Linked DNA regions of Homo sapiens: regions 2, 3 and 4 are each linked to region 1. Evidence: promoter capture Hi-C in 16 types of primary human blood cells and fetal thymus (Javierre and others, 2016). All regions are on one chromosome and are shown on one strand. The core of a region is centred on a gene start or on the middle of the fragment in contact, and the rest is flanking DNA. Distances in the headings are between cores, read along the strand shown.

What was found. The method cuts DNA at HindIII sites, captures the fragments that hold promoters and counts their contacts. A CHiCAGO score of 5 or more calls a contact.
Region 2: the fragment with the promoter of GRM8 here is called in contact with the fragment with the promoter of POT1 in region 1 in 1 of 17 cell types (activated CD4 T cells); the score reaches 8.3 in activated CD4 T cells.
Region 3: a fragment that was not itself captured here is called in contact with the fragment with the promoter of POT1 in region 1 in 1 of 17 cell types (total CD4 T cells); the score reaches 5.9 in total CD4 T cells.
Region 4: the fragment with the promoter of SND1 here is called in contact with the fragment with the promoter of POT1 in region 1 in 9 of 17 cell types (non-activated CD4 T cells, naive CD8 T cells, total B cells and 6 more); the score reaches 23.8 in non-activated CD4 T cells.

What each region holds. Positions count from the first base shown.
Region 1 is chr7:124,928,536-124,931,936 of GRCh38, forward strand. POT1 (protection of telomeres 1) reads right to left here and starts at 1,290. Exons shown (of 19, transcript NM_015450.3): 1 at 1,259-1,290; 2 at 280-464. It overlaps POT1-AS1 (POT1 antisense RNA 1), which reads left to right and starts at 1,338. Exons shown (of 8, transcript NR_125719.1): 1 at 1,338-1,481. RefSeq lists enhancers at 1,226-1,525, 1,280-1,574. The HindIII fragment of the contact is 3,988 bases long and covers 1-1,578 here.
Region 2 is chr7:127,251,502-127,254,923 of GRCh38, forward strand. It overlaps GRM8 (glutamate metabotropic receptor 8), which reads right to left and starts at 1,440. Exons shown (of 11, transcript NM_000845.3): 1 at 1,296-1,440. RefSeq lists an enhancer at 2,278-2,527 and a silencer at 2,648-2,707. The HindIII fragment of the contact is 9,242 bases long and covers 1-3,422 here.
Region 3 is chr7:127,582,144-127,585,543 of GRCh38, forward strand. It overlaps GCC1 (GRIP and coiled-coil domain containing 1), which reads right to left. Exons shown (of 2, transcript NM_024523.6): 1 at 2,008-3,400; 2 at 1-1,166. The coding sequence starts at 3,039. All of the region lies in intron 1 of LOC105375490 (a long non-coding RNA gene), which reads right to left. Among named protein-coding and RNA genes, the nearest start is that of GCC1, 1.8 kb to the right of the region's middle. RefSeq lists enhancers at 883-2,082, 1,801-2,801, 2,802-3,400. The HindIII fragment of the contact is 4,362 bases long and covers 1-3,400 here.
Region 4 is chr7:127,650,626-127,653,939 of GRCh38, forward strand. SND1 (staphylococcal nuclease and tudor domain containing 1) reads left to right here and starts at 1,569. Exons shown (of 24, transcript NM_014390.4): 1 at 1,569-1,826. The coding sequence starts at 1,749. It overlaps SND1-DT (SND1 divergent transcript), which reads right to left and starts at 1,207. Exons shown (of 2, transcript NR_186577.1): 1 at 1,048-1,207. RefSeq lists a silencer at 1,118-1,367 and enhancers at 1,165-1,783, 1,608-1,787. The HindIII fragment of the contact is 9,151 bases long and covers 1-3,314 here.

The sequences.
Region 1 (3,401 bases), core at 40-2,539:
TGATCTGTCAGACCCCACAGAAATGTGATTATCTTTAGTTCCGGGACTATATTTATTCATCTTTGTACCTCAGAAACTTACTCCAATGTTTCACACACGAATTTGATAATTGTTCGCTAAATAAGTACTGAATAAGAATAACTTATTGAAATATTCAATCTCAAATGTTATGACAAAGATAAAAACCATACCTAAACCAGTTCTCATAAATAAACTCAACACTTAAAAACTGCATTCCTTTTAGTAGGAAAAAGCATTCTGAGTTATAGAAATTCTTACCTGAATATATTTCTTGCTATAATTGTAACCTGGCTGTAGGGATCCGAAATCTACTTTATGTAATTTACTCAGCGGCTGAACTTCAGGCACCCCATTGACTTCCTTTATTAATTCAAGTGGCATATCAGTTCTGCTTCACACTGATGTCCAAAGCAAATTCAACTAGGGAATCTGACAACTTGCTGCTGAAAATACAAAACCAGTGTTTTACCCAAAATGAAGTCAATAATTTGCTTTAAGTCTCTTTGACTTAGTTATGCTTTTCCTTATTATAGTTAACACGGTTCGGGGTTGGGGGGTGACAGGAGGATGGATTATTTTACAATTTTATTGCAAAGATCAATACAAAACATTCTTCCAAGGAACTGAAACTTAACCATTTTCTACTTAGCTGCGTAAAGTACCTCCAAAAAGCCAGTTTTAAGATCTGTAACGTCACTAACAAACGCTTTTAACATTGTGCTTTAAAATGTAAAATTTATTGGGGAAGAGGGAGGCTGAAAAATCGTGTTTTTTTTTAACCCCCACGGGAGCTGTAATATTGTATAGACAAACTGTGCACCAAAAGCATCGTACTCCAACATGTTTCTGTGGCCCCCTCCCTTCACCCGCTAAATAAATGAAGAAACAAAAATTACTGAACTGAGATTAACTTCTGCATCGTAGGCTCAACCTTATTTCACAGACCTCTTGACGGGGACACTCACTAGTGTCGATATCTAATTTTAATGTTTGCGCACCAACCTTCCCCCAAGCCACCTGAGCTCTGTGAGGGCGGGGACTTGGACTTAACTCCTGTCTGCTTCTCCCAAAACACCAAGAAAGATGCTGAACACAGCAGGCTCGAGATAAACACTCGTAAGAAAGCGTTTCTCTGCGATAATTACATCAAATTTTGATCTAAACTAATTCAATCCCGGGCCCGTTACGTCTGGCACCCACTCAAATGAACACACCAAACCTTACAAATTTCACTCACCCGTACTCTAGAAAGAACCCTAGGAAGAGTTTAGGCGGGCGCGCAGGTGACGTCACACGCACGCTGACGGTTCAGCTCCACGCATGCGTGCAGGATCCCTGGGCATAGTCGCTTGTTCTCCGCCCGCGGTGGACCAGCTGCGTAACGGTTCACACACTGATGGCGCCTGGAGGTTTGGCGAAATACTGACAGGATGCGACGTCAACGGGAGCGCAGGGCCAAGGTACAGGCCCCGCCCAGTCCGGTCACATCCCCCGGAATTCTCGCAGCTCCCCTTAGCTCCGCCCCCAGTGACTTTCCAGCTTTCGTGGCGGGAGGCAAGCTTAGGGGAAGCGGGCGGGTCCGCTGGGCGGGATTTGAGCTTCCCTTTGGTAGATTCGAAGCTCCTGTAGGCAGAGCCTTTCTTTTAATGTCCAGTTCTCTTCCTCCAAGAAATAGGCACCTACTGCAGTCTTTACAAGGAAGCATTTACAAGGATAACAATGTTATTTGGGAGTTTTTATAGTAATTTCGGGCATTGGCATAATGCCACCATTGAGTCTTGCTATTTACAGACAGATTTGATTAACCTTGTCATTGTTTTATAGGGCCATGATTTTGTGGTATAATTAATATTTATTATAATTTATTTTATAGGTTTATTATAGTTTATTTAATATTTATTATAACTTATAATTGATAAATATTATAATTTATCATTTATAATGATAAATTGTTAAACATGAATTCTCTGCTAATTCCAGATATATGCCTTCAATCATTTAAGTGAAATCATCCTAGTGTGAAACTAAATGTAATAAAGAATTACATGAATATTTCCAAGGCTAATTTGAACTAAAATATCTTCTTTATATACATATTTGCAGGAGGATATAGCTAACTTTTTTTTTTTTTTTGAGACGGAATCTCGCTCTGTCACCAGGCTGGAGTGCAATGGCGCAATCTCGGCTAACTGCAACCCCCACCTCCCGGGTTCAAGCAATTCTTCTGCCTCAGCCTCCCTAGTAGCTGGGATTACAGGCGCAGGCCACCATGCCTGGCTAATTTTTGTATTTGTTTAGTAGAGACGGGGTTTCCCATTTTGGCCAGGCTGGTCTCGAACTCCTGACCTTGTGATCCGCCCACCTTGGCCTCCCAAAGTGCTGGGATTACAGACATGAGCCACTGTGCCCAGCCAGCTATGTTTGAAGTGCCTTTTTAATCAACAGGAAGCATTCAGTATTAGCCCATCTCCTGTTTCCCCTCCCCATCCCTGTAGTTATATCCCACGCAGAAGCCGGGGTGACAAGTGCATGAACTCAGGAGCTGTCCATTTGAGGAAAACTATAGGGAAGGTTTAGATGCTATCCTCCTTCCATCTCTGGCTGCATCCGGCTGAGAAATACTATTCCTCCTTTTTATGTGAAGCCCTCCACATGGGCTTTGGACCCTGACCAATTTCATCTCCCTTCCATCATCATCAATATATTTTCTCTTAATGTATTTTAAGCTTTCCTTCTTTTATTCATTCTTTCCCGTCACCATTTAAACACATTCTCCCAGGCTCTTGCTCTGTCGCCCAGGCTGAAGTGCAGTGGCGAGATCATAGCTCGCTGCAGCCTGGAACTCCTGGGCTCAAGCTATCCTCTGGCCTCAGCCTTCTAAGTAGCTGGGACTACAGGCACAGGCCACCACACCCGGCTAATTTTTTAAAAAAATTTTGTGGAGACGAGTTCTCACTATGTTGCCCAGTCAGTCTCACACTCCTCTGTGGGTACTAAATATTTGTTGAATGAACAAATGCTGAGGAAAACTGTTTATCTTACTTCTGACTTCCACCCCTCCATCCCACCCCTGCCCCCCACCACCCCATTACACTTAAACTGCCCTTAGAAAAACCACTGAAGAACTCTTTATTGCTAACCCAAAAGGACATTTTTAGTCTCATATTTTTGAAAACATTCTTTGTGCTACAACATGGTCCTAGTTTTCCTCTTACCTTCTACCAACTGAATCTTTTAAAATTTCTCATAATCTGTTTAGCCTGTAAGTATCCATGTTCTGTAGAATGTGATGAAGATGTCTAATAGAGGTATACGTAAGTCCTTTTATTTTGTTAAAGTGGTTGTTCTCAGTTCCTGTGGGACACAACACTTCCTACACG
Region 2 (3,422 bases), core at 190-2,689, 2.3 Mb after region 1:
CGCCAGGAGCCCCTGTTTCCCAGCGCAGGTTCCTTTTTCTTCTCAGTTCCTTGGGCTGTTGAAGCCGGGTTCTGGGTAGATAGAGACTGGGGCCGTGGGGAGAGCGCCAGGCTGCTTTTGCCTTTCCCGCGCCCCGGGGCATTCCGGCGCGCTGGGGATGCAGCCTCCGCCCCCGCCGCACCTGGCCGCCCGAGCGCCCGCGCCCACGCCCCGCGCGGGGCCGCCCGAAACTGGGGCCGCGCCAGCCGCGGGAGCTACCGAGGAGCTGTTGGGGTGCGTTTGCCTTTGCTTTTTAAACAAGATCCCCGAGACCTTTTCTCCATCCCCCCAACCCCCAGCAGGACACGGAACTCCGGCGTTTCTCGAAAGCCACAAAAGAGGGGCACGGAAATCCCAAGCTCGCCGTGCTAACTCGGAGAACGCAAACTCGAGGCAGAGCGTGCGCCGTGCGGGGATGTGGGTGTCGAGGACCCCGAAGCGCCCGGCTTCCCCCGCGACCCCCATCCTCCCTAGATCCTGGTTAGACATCCATCCAGCCCACGCTCAGAGGGCGGGGGTTACCCCGACTCATCCCGGAAGCCGCTAACTTCAGAAATCCCTCCTGTTAGGTTCGCGAAACGAAGGTACCTCGTCATCTCGGCGGGGCAAGTCCGGATTCCACCAGGGCAGGTCCGGGAGGTCACCCAGGGCAGACGATCCGAGGCAGAGCGCTTTAAAATCCTGCCGCCGCACGCCCAGTCAGAGCGCCGAGCGCGCCTGCCCCCTTCCCGTCACCCTTCAGTCTCCCATTCGCCGACTAAACTTTTGGGGGATCACATCTCCAAGCCTTGGGAGTTCCGGGTAAAGTCTCCCTCTTTTCTGAACCTCTTTACTGTAATGTAATCATGGGCAGACAAGAGGGGTGGCTGCCTTGTTCTTTGCAACGTAAAATCAACAGACACCCAATCAAGCTCCAATGCCCGGCCAGCCCCTCGCCCCCTGGTGCCCACTCTCCTTCTCCCCCCATTCCCGTCACCTCCGCCCGCTATTTCTCTCACAGACTACGGACATGCAGGGCCATCTACTTGTGCTCAGGAAAAACAAATCACTAGAGTGATATGAGAAGGAATGGTGCACCTGGCTGTCCGCTGAAAGGTTTTAGAGAAGAAAACGGAAAGGGGAATAAAACGGGGGGATTCTCCTTTTCCAACAAGCAGGGCGTTTTGGGGAAGTTTGGGGGCCAGGGGCTTTTTGTCCCGTGGTTCGGCACTTGCTTTCCTCGGAGCCGCTTTCTGCTGCCGGGCGGCGAGTCTTACCCTGCTCCCCGCAGAGGGCGCGGTGAGGAAGCCCGCCGGGGGCCCGCAGCTCCATGTCAGCGCCGCCGCCGCCGCCGCCGCCGCCGCGTGAGGCGAGCACAGCGGCCGCACTTGTGGCTGATCTCTGGGCTGAGGGGGCTGAGCTGGCCTAGCAGGCGCCAAGTCTCTTCCATGTGAATAACAAATACTCCCACCGGCGGCCGCGATTGGTCTGCGCCCGGCGCCTCCCGATCCTCCGCCCGCGGCCATTCACCCGGCGCGGCGCGGGGAGCCGCGGCCAGGATCGCGCCCGGGATCGCCAATCGCTTCGCGCCAACCAGTCACCTCGGGAAGCGGGAGGAGGAACCCCCGAGGGGCGGGAGCCTCTGGATTTCGGTGTCACCCAGCGGCCCTGGCGCGGGCAGGGAGGGGGACCCTCGGCCCGCGGATCCCCCTCCGCTCTTCAGCCTGAAGCGACGAGGAGACCAGAAATGTCAATAGTTCTGATTTTTAAAAATCATCCCCCCTTCCCCGCCCCCAAGAAAAAGGGGAGGACCCAACTACAGAGTGAGAGGGTGGGAAGAAGCGGGAGCGGTAGAAGAAGGAATATGGTTGTGGAGGAGCCCAGCGGCTCCGGCTGCCTGGCGAGCCCGGGACCGGCGCGGGGAGGCGCGACGCCCGCCCGAGCACAGCGGGCAGCACCCGCGAGCCCGGGTCCCCGGTGAACACAGCTCCAGAAAGCGTCACCGAGAATAACACATGGTAGATGACAAGTGTCCCGCCACATGCTTTCTTTTCGGGAATGCTTAAAGTAGAGCCGGCAAGCCGCGCGGTTCCCTTGCAAAGTTTGCCTGGCGCCGCGCGGCGGTTCCGCCATTTGTCCCGCCCCGCGGCTCTGGCGATTGTCTCCCCACTCCCCGCCCCCGAGGGTCTGAGGGACGCGTGCAACAGAGTCCCCAGGGCTCGAGGTACCACACAGCGCGGTCCGCTGCGGGCACTGCGCAGGAAGGGGCATGGGTGGCTACCGGGACGGTCATTTTATTGAGATGATTCAAGGAGCCGCAGACGCGGGGCAGGAAACTCCGGGGGAGCCGTGCTCGGGTTCTGCAGGGAAACCTCGGGATTCCCTTCGCATGCCGCATGCGGAAACCTGCCGGGCTCGACGTGCACAGTCCAGCGCTCCTCCCCACTAGTTACTGCCCAGGCCCCCCGATCCTGCACCCGCCGGAATGAGAGAAAGTAGCCCCTCGCCGCCCAGCTCCCGGGTAGCTGCTCCGGCCGGGCCTTGCGTTGGTGAGAAAGTTCCATCTAGAGGCGGCCGCGCGCAACTGCAGGCGGCGCCCTAGGCCCGGGCGAGCCAGGGAGAGCGGGGCGCGGGGGGAGAGGGGGCAGCCCAGGAGATAAGGAGGATGGAGAAGGACGGGAGAGACCCCGAAAAGGCAAGCTCTAGACCCCCGTTCGGCATCTCTACAATGAATTTTATCTTCCTAAGCATCATGAACTTATAAGCATTATGTCAGGAATCTTTCATTAATTCCTGTATATATCGCCTGTTCTGTTCGGGTTATTTTAATTTTCACATCAACTCTGTGAGATGGTCAAAATTATTAAGCCCACTCTACAGATGGAGGCAGAAGCCGAGGCTTAGAGACACGGCTGGAAAGTATTACAGCCAGAAATCAGTGTCTGGCTTCAAAACCCCATAGCACTTCCTCCCTGGTGGTGTTGGCTTTTCCCAAGGCTGGTTGTAATGTGCGAAGTTTCGATTGAGGAAACAGCTGTCTCTCTCCTAATTTCAAAAAAGGACCCTTGCCCTTTGTCACTTAGAAAAAATCTACAGGTTTTCAGCCCAGGGCACCTCTTCCCCTTTCGTTCCCTTCCTTCTCCCATCTCATGAGAGGCTCTTTGATTGTTGAATCATTATTTTATAGCTGCAACCACAAAAGAGGGAGGGAGGAGGATTTGGAGAGAGAAAATGGGCTGGGTCCTCTGTCTGAAAACCTTTCTGCATAGGGAACCTCAATTCCCTGTGAATGTCTAGTGCAGCTCTGAAGAGGGTGATCAGTGTCCGGTGCCACTTGGGACAAGGAAGGTGGGAAGAGGGAAGAGCTCCTAATTTATGCGGAGATGGGGCTGGGTGGACTTCCT
Region 3 (3,400 bases), core at 235-2,734, 2.7 Mb after region 1:
AAGGTCAGGAAGCGGTAGATGATGTTTTTGAGGTACTCCAGATTGGCTCCCTCCCTGCTCTGGTCCCTGATGTTCTTTTCGATGTGGCTCTGCAGGGCTGCAACCTCCTCACGATGCCGTTCGCCCTCCTCCAGCAGCCGATCCTGCAGCTGATGCACCTCGACCTCCAGCCTGTGCTTCTGCTTCCTCAGTGATGTGATCTCCACCTCCTTGCGGGCCAGTTGCTCAGCGTACAGAAAGAAAGTGGGCTCATTGGCCGCTGCAAGTTGTAATGCTTGGGTCAGGCTATCAGAGGATGATGTGTCAGCTGGGTCCCCAGGACCGCCACCACCCACAGGACTTCTGCGTCCTGGCAGCCCAGAGGCCAAGGCCACAGAACGCAGTTGCTCCAGTTCCAAGTCCTTCTCGGTGAGCACAGCTAGGGCACGATCCCGCTGCTTGTGCAGCTCCTCCTCCAGTTTCAGTGTGCGGTCCCTGAAGTCCAGCTGGCACCGCTCCAGCTCCTGCCGGTGGAGCTGCTGCAGCCGGGCCAGCTCCTGCTTCCAGTCATCAGCCTCCTGCTGGTGTTGGTGCTCCAGCTCCTCGCAGGAGAGCCGCAGGGAAATATACTTCTCCTTCAGCTCTGCAAGCTGTTCCTGGGCTGCCTCCAGCTCCTTTCCCAGGTTACCATCTTTGGTATTCTTGCTTTTGAGGACAACCTGGGCTCTCATCTTGTACCTCTCAAACTCTTCCTTCAGCTGTTTCAGCTCCTGTTGGTAATAGAGTGCAGTAGCCTTCTCCCCATCAGCAGCCTCCGAGCTGGGCATTATCTCCAGGTCACAGAGCTTCTCCACATCCAGGGTCACCTGGCTTTTCCTGGCCGCAACCTGCAGCAGCCTCTTCAGCTTCTCCATCTTATCTTTCAGGACATTGACATCCAGACTGGACTCCTCTCCATGGCTGTCTAAAGGGGACCTGCTGGAGGCTGCTAGAGCCAGTGTCTTGTTCTCCAGGTCCAGCTGCAGAATGCGCTCCTTCAGCTTCTGAATGGCCAGCTGGTCCTTCTGCTTGGCTTTCTCGTAGGTGCCTAGCAGCTCAGACACCTCGGATATTTGATTCTCCAGGGCTGCCACCCTCTGTTCTTCTACCTGAGATTGCTGACGGAGTTGATCCTCTGCAAGAGCTGTCTGCAAAACAAGGGAACAGACAAAAATGCATCCACAAAAGCCCCACAGCAAACTCTGAGAAAGCAGGAGAGGGGAGCAAAAGGGTCACAGGTTTGGGATGGCCTGGCAAGAATGCTAACTAGGGATTTTTCGGTTGATTCAGGAGCTAACAAAAGTTCCTATTACCTGCTTGGATTCTGCAAGACACATATTATACTGAACAATATGAAGCACCTTGGTACATCTGCTATTGTTCTGCTTTCCACCTAACCACATATAATGTGTGTTACTGTTGTTTCTCAGGTGCTTCCTCAAATCCTATTAAGAAATCATACAGCATTCTTTTCCTTATCCAATATTCCTGGAAGTTCAAAACTGCGCTGGATCTCCCTCTCCACATTGAAAGGAGGCACCCTTTCAATACCTGTTCTGGAAAATAGCACTTCTCCAGAACAGGCACATCTTGAGTAAAGGCAATGACAAGAGGTTACTTCTGAGAAAATCCCCTTTGCCTTCGGCCACTCTTCCTAGAGGCACATACCAACAGAAGACACGCTACCTTTTACTATACAGCTGCCACTATACTGCTTCATAGAGCACAGCTGGTAAGATGCCAATGCCCAGAAGTGCAGAGCTGTCTGGCTTCAACCCAGCCTACACTGAGAAGCTCCACATCCTCCTGGAAGCACATATGTCAACACCGCATAGAACAGGACTTCCCAGGTTCACTAGTGGAACTTCTCAGGTGGCATCAAAAATGACAGTATAGACACTTAGCTCTAACTAGCAAAGGAGGAAAAAAACCCTAATATTTCTCACTTCAGGTCAATGGCTGATGTTTGAAAGAGATATGGATAATTACCTTTCTCATTTCCTGCTGTAACTGAGCCTGGAAATGGCTCTTAAGGCGGGCAGCCTCTTCCTGAAGTTCTTGCAGCCGGGGATCTGGCTGATTCTTCTCATCTCGAATGGCCTGCAGTTCACTTTTCAGCTCCTCCACCTCACGGGTCAGCTGCTTGGTCTGCAGTTCAAATCCTTCCATCTGTTCAGCTGCATATGCTCGTCCTGCCAAGGCTTCTCGGGTCTCTTCTAACCTAAGCTCCAAGTCCTGGCGCTGGGTCCTCTCCTCCTGCAGCAGCTTCTGGAGCTCACGCAGCATCAAGGCATGGTCACTCTGCTCTTGGGCCCGATCATGCTGCTGCGTGATAAGCCGGGCTTTGGTTTCTGCTATTTGCTCCTGCAGCCCCTTCAATTCTCCCTCCAGGCGGGCCCTCTCCTCCTCCGCCTTGTTACTGGCATCCTCTAAGTCCTGTTTCATCTTTTTCTTGTCAGCCAAGTAAGAAGCCTCCATGCGGGACTTCTCCTGAGTGACTGTAGCCAAAGAACTGGTCAAAGTAGCCAACTGAGTCTTCAGCTGGTGCAGTCTTTTGTCCACCTCCCCACCTGCAAATGGCCCATCCCCACTGCTACTGCTAACGCCACTCTCGGACCAACTGGCCTCTTCGGACTTTGGAGGTGGTGGTCCACGGGCCGGTCTGTCATCTTCTACCCCAAACTCACCCTTGGTGCTGGTGAGACTGGCCGCAGTATCCAAGCTAGTGGCGGTCCCAGTGCTATCCTCGCTGTGAGTGGAGCACCGGTCATCCACAGAGTCAGGAAAGGTGAGGCCTGGAAGCTGGACACCTGCGAGGCCCACATCTGCCTCGTGGGATACCGACAGCACCTTGATGCTGGCCTCTAATGCCTCTTTCTCCTTCAGCAGGCTTTTATAGGCACGGACCACATCCTTGAGCCGTGCCTGGTACTGGAGAAGCTGCTTCTTCTGGGTCTCTATAGTCTCCAGCAAGTCCTTCTTGCTCGGGCCGCCCCCGAAATTCATCCCAAACTTCTCCATGGAGGGTCTGAACGGATTGCCCCACGTCAGCTTTCCAGCAGAACGGGAGAGGGCCGTGAAGACGCAGGCGGGGGCTTAAAGAAACAGCGAGCGGGCTGTCCGGCGGCGGGCCGCACACCTACTCCACCTAGTTATCCCGGACCTAATGCGGAACGGCCGGACGGACTGGCGAAAGCGGCCGCCCGGTCCCAGGCCCGGAGGGCTGGGGCGGATTCTACCCCGGAGGCGGGGCGACACTGGCACCAGAGGTGCGCACTGCCAGGGCTCGTTAGCGCTGGCCCAGAAGCCGCTCCGCACTCTCCGCTCGTCTGGGCCACAGCAGCCCGGGCCGGCCCCCTCGGCCCACGTCGGCCAGAGGGTT
Region 4 (3,314 bases), core at 319-2,818, 2.7 Mb after region 1:
ATGAATGACACGGTAGAAATAGGGGTACGGTAGATAAAAAGCCACGAGATAGAGAGGGGTATAATCTGATGGAACCAACTTCCACAGAGGTTTTTTTTTTTTTTTTTTTTTTTTTTGGAAAAGGGTGGCAAATTAGGGATCTAAGAAGGTGACCTCAAAACTTAACCCTGGGATATGTTTAGTGTGGGAGAATAAACTTACAATCTTTTAAGAGAGCAAGGGGCCATGCACTGTGGTTAATGCATGTAATACCAGCACTTTAGGAGGCCGAGGTAGGAGTATAGCTTGAGCCCAGGAGACCAGCCTGGGCAACATAGTGAAATCTCAGCTCTACAAAAAAAAAATTAGCTGGGCGTGGTAGCGCGGACCCGTGGTACCAGCTCCAGCTACACCGGAGACTGAGGCAGGAGGATCGCTTGAGCCTGGGAGTGTCAAGGCTGCAGTGAGCCGTGATCGTGCCCCCGCACTCCAGCCTGAGCGACAGAGCGAGACTTTGTCTCAAAAAAGCCACAAAACCAAAGAAACAAAAAGAACTGCAAGGGAAGTACTGTCTTCAGTGTAGAGCCAAGTTTTACGATTAAATGACATAACACATGCAAGGTCCTTGGTTCCACATAGTGGGCACTCAACGAATATTAGTTCTCGCTAAACAGTCACTTAAATATTTGTAGGCCTTGGCTTTCCCGTTCCTTCCCCGACCTTTTTACTGGGGCTAGGGAAGGTATCCGGTGGCTGGAGGCGCTTCACACTGGGTCGGGTGAGAGCGTGAAGCGAGCCTTTTCCCTAACGTCACGGGAGCAGCTGGGAAGAGACCGAAGAACGAGGGTCACTCTCCCCTGTATACGTGGCATGTCCTTCCTCTGAGACATTTATTCCTCCCACCAACAAACATTAATGGAACGCCTCACAAGTGCTAGACCCCAGCGACACAAACAAGGGCGAGGCACACTCTCTGACTACAAAAAGGGCGCGCGGCCGCGTGGCAGGTCAAAGCCCACATCGGTAGGAGGTTCCACAAAGCTCTGATTTTCCAAGTTCTCTCCATACTTTTAGCCAAGGTAAAATGTCGGAAGTCGAGTGGAGCGGGTACGGAGATTCCTCCAGGACTCTGCCTGCGTGGCTCCACCCTCCCAGGCCGCATTCCCGGGTACAGCGGCGCCCACCTAGGTGGGTATACAAGTGTGCGCCCCTGAGGCCAGCGGGGAAGGACGTCATGGGCGAGGTCAGGCGGGAGGGCGCGGCTGGCTCCGCCCCTGGGGCTCCCATGGCCCCCCGCGCCCCGCGGCCAGATGCTGACGTGTCCTTTCCTTCCCACTACACCTCCCGACATTACCTACTCCGGCTGCCCCGGAAGTCCCGCCCCATATTTAGCCCATCCTTGCAAATCAACTCTTTCAGCGCTTCCTGGAACTCACCACCGTTTTGGGGACCAAGAGGCGGGGCTCCGCGAGCAGGGTGCCTATTGGCCTGAGGGCCGGCGGGCTCTGGGCGCTAATTGGGCGGAGGGCGGTGGCGCTCTGGCACGCTTGCGCGGCGAGTAGAACGTGTGGCGGCGGCGGAGATCGCGTCTCTTTCGCTCCGTGTCCCGCTGCTGCTCCTGTGAGCGCCCGGCGAGTCCGTCCCGTCCACCGTCCGCAGCTGGTAGCCAGCCTGCCCCTCGCCTCGACTCCCTTTCACCAACACCGACACCCACATTGACACCTCCAGTCCGGCCAGCCGCTCCACTCGTTGCCTTTGCATCTCCACACATGGCGTCCTCCGCGCAGAGCGGCGGCTCCTCCGGGGGACCCGCGGTCCCCACCGTGCAGCGGGGCATCATCAAGATGGTGAGAACGGGCCCCGGACACCGACCCCTCTGCCTGCCTTCGGGCGGGAGTCAGGCATTGACTCCACCTTCCGCCAGCCTGCTCCATGTCCCAGATCCCCTTTCCTCTGCCCCCTTCCTCACTTTTCGTCGATTCTCCGAATCCTCTCACTAGACGGAAGCAGACACGGAGTCCCCTTGTTCCTTGCCTCCCGGACACCTTGACATCAGGGGTCACAGTGATTTCCGAGGTTGCGGCATTCGGATCTCCTGTCTGTTTACCAGGACAGATCGATTACTGATTGATTAACAGAGACAATTCGTTGATATCTGTCCTCCCATCCCCCGTCTTTCTGTTCATTTTGACATATGCTGAGTAGTTAGTAGTTTTTCGAGATCCTGACATCGGCTCTTCTCTACTAGTACTTGGCCATCATGAAACTTTTCTGTTCCCACAAACGCTGTTACTTGACTCCCAAGTTTTCTCACTCTGTGGCCCTCTTTTCCTCTCTTTCCCTCCACCTCTTGTGTCGACCTGAAAGCTCCTGATCTTTGTGTACTTTTGACTTCTAAAAGGTTAGGCCGGCAAGAATCTTAGTAATCATCATTGTTCTCCCGTCCCTTAAAGATAAGGAGATAGGCTTGAAGAAGGCAAGTGACTTGCTTAAGGTCACATGGTGGTTTGGGTTGGAGCCATAGCAAGAGCCCAAGTGTTCGGATTCCTGGTCTAGTGCTCATAGCACTATAGATTCTGCCTGATTTTATATACCCTCAACTTTTTGAAAATTCTTCAATTTTGAATTTGAACCTGCAAAGTTTATTTTTACAATTTACTCCTAGCTCCATGATAATTTGATAATATAAATTCAGTTTATCACTTGCCCCCAGTTGTCCTCCCCAAAACCCTTCCAAATCTTGGAACCTGACATTTCTTGGTTTTACCAATTTTCTGGTTTATGATGACTGTAAACTTCTAGATGTCGTTTCATACTGCAGTTCTGACATTTGTATCTGCAACAGCAAATATCTTTTGTGATACTTTCTCCCAAGGCTCCACAAGTTTTGCTGTTGTAGAAAGTTTTGAAAAATTCTATTTTAGGCCTGGTGCGGTGGCTCATGGTGGTAATCCCAGCACTTAGGAGGCCGAGGTGGGAGGATTGCTTGAGGCCAGGAGTTGGAGATCAGCCTGGGCAACATAGCAAGACCCAGTTTAAAAAAAATTCTATTTTATTACCCTGTTATCTTTCACAAGATTAAAATGTTCTGCAGCTTATGTGTGTGTAAAGCTGATTTTAAGATCCCCTCGCCCAATTCCCATGTGCTCATTTCTTAAGGTAATAGTCTGCCACCAGCCAAGATTCTTGGGATTTTCAGTACTGCCTTTTCCTTTTGTTTATGTGTAATGGAGGGTCAGAACTGATCTGAAACTGAATGAGAAGAGAATTTCCAAGATCCGCATATATTTTTCCTCTGAAATACTGACCTGACCCATGAAAGGATTATCCTAAAG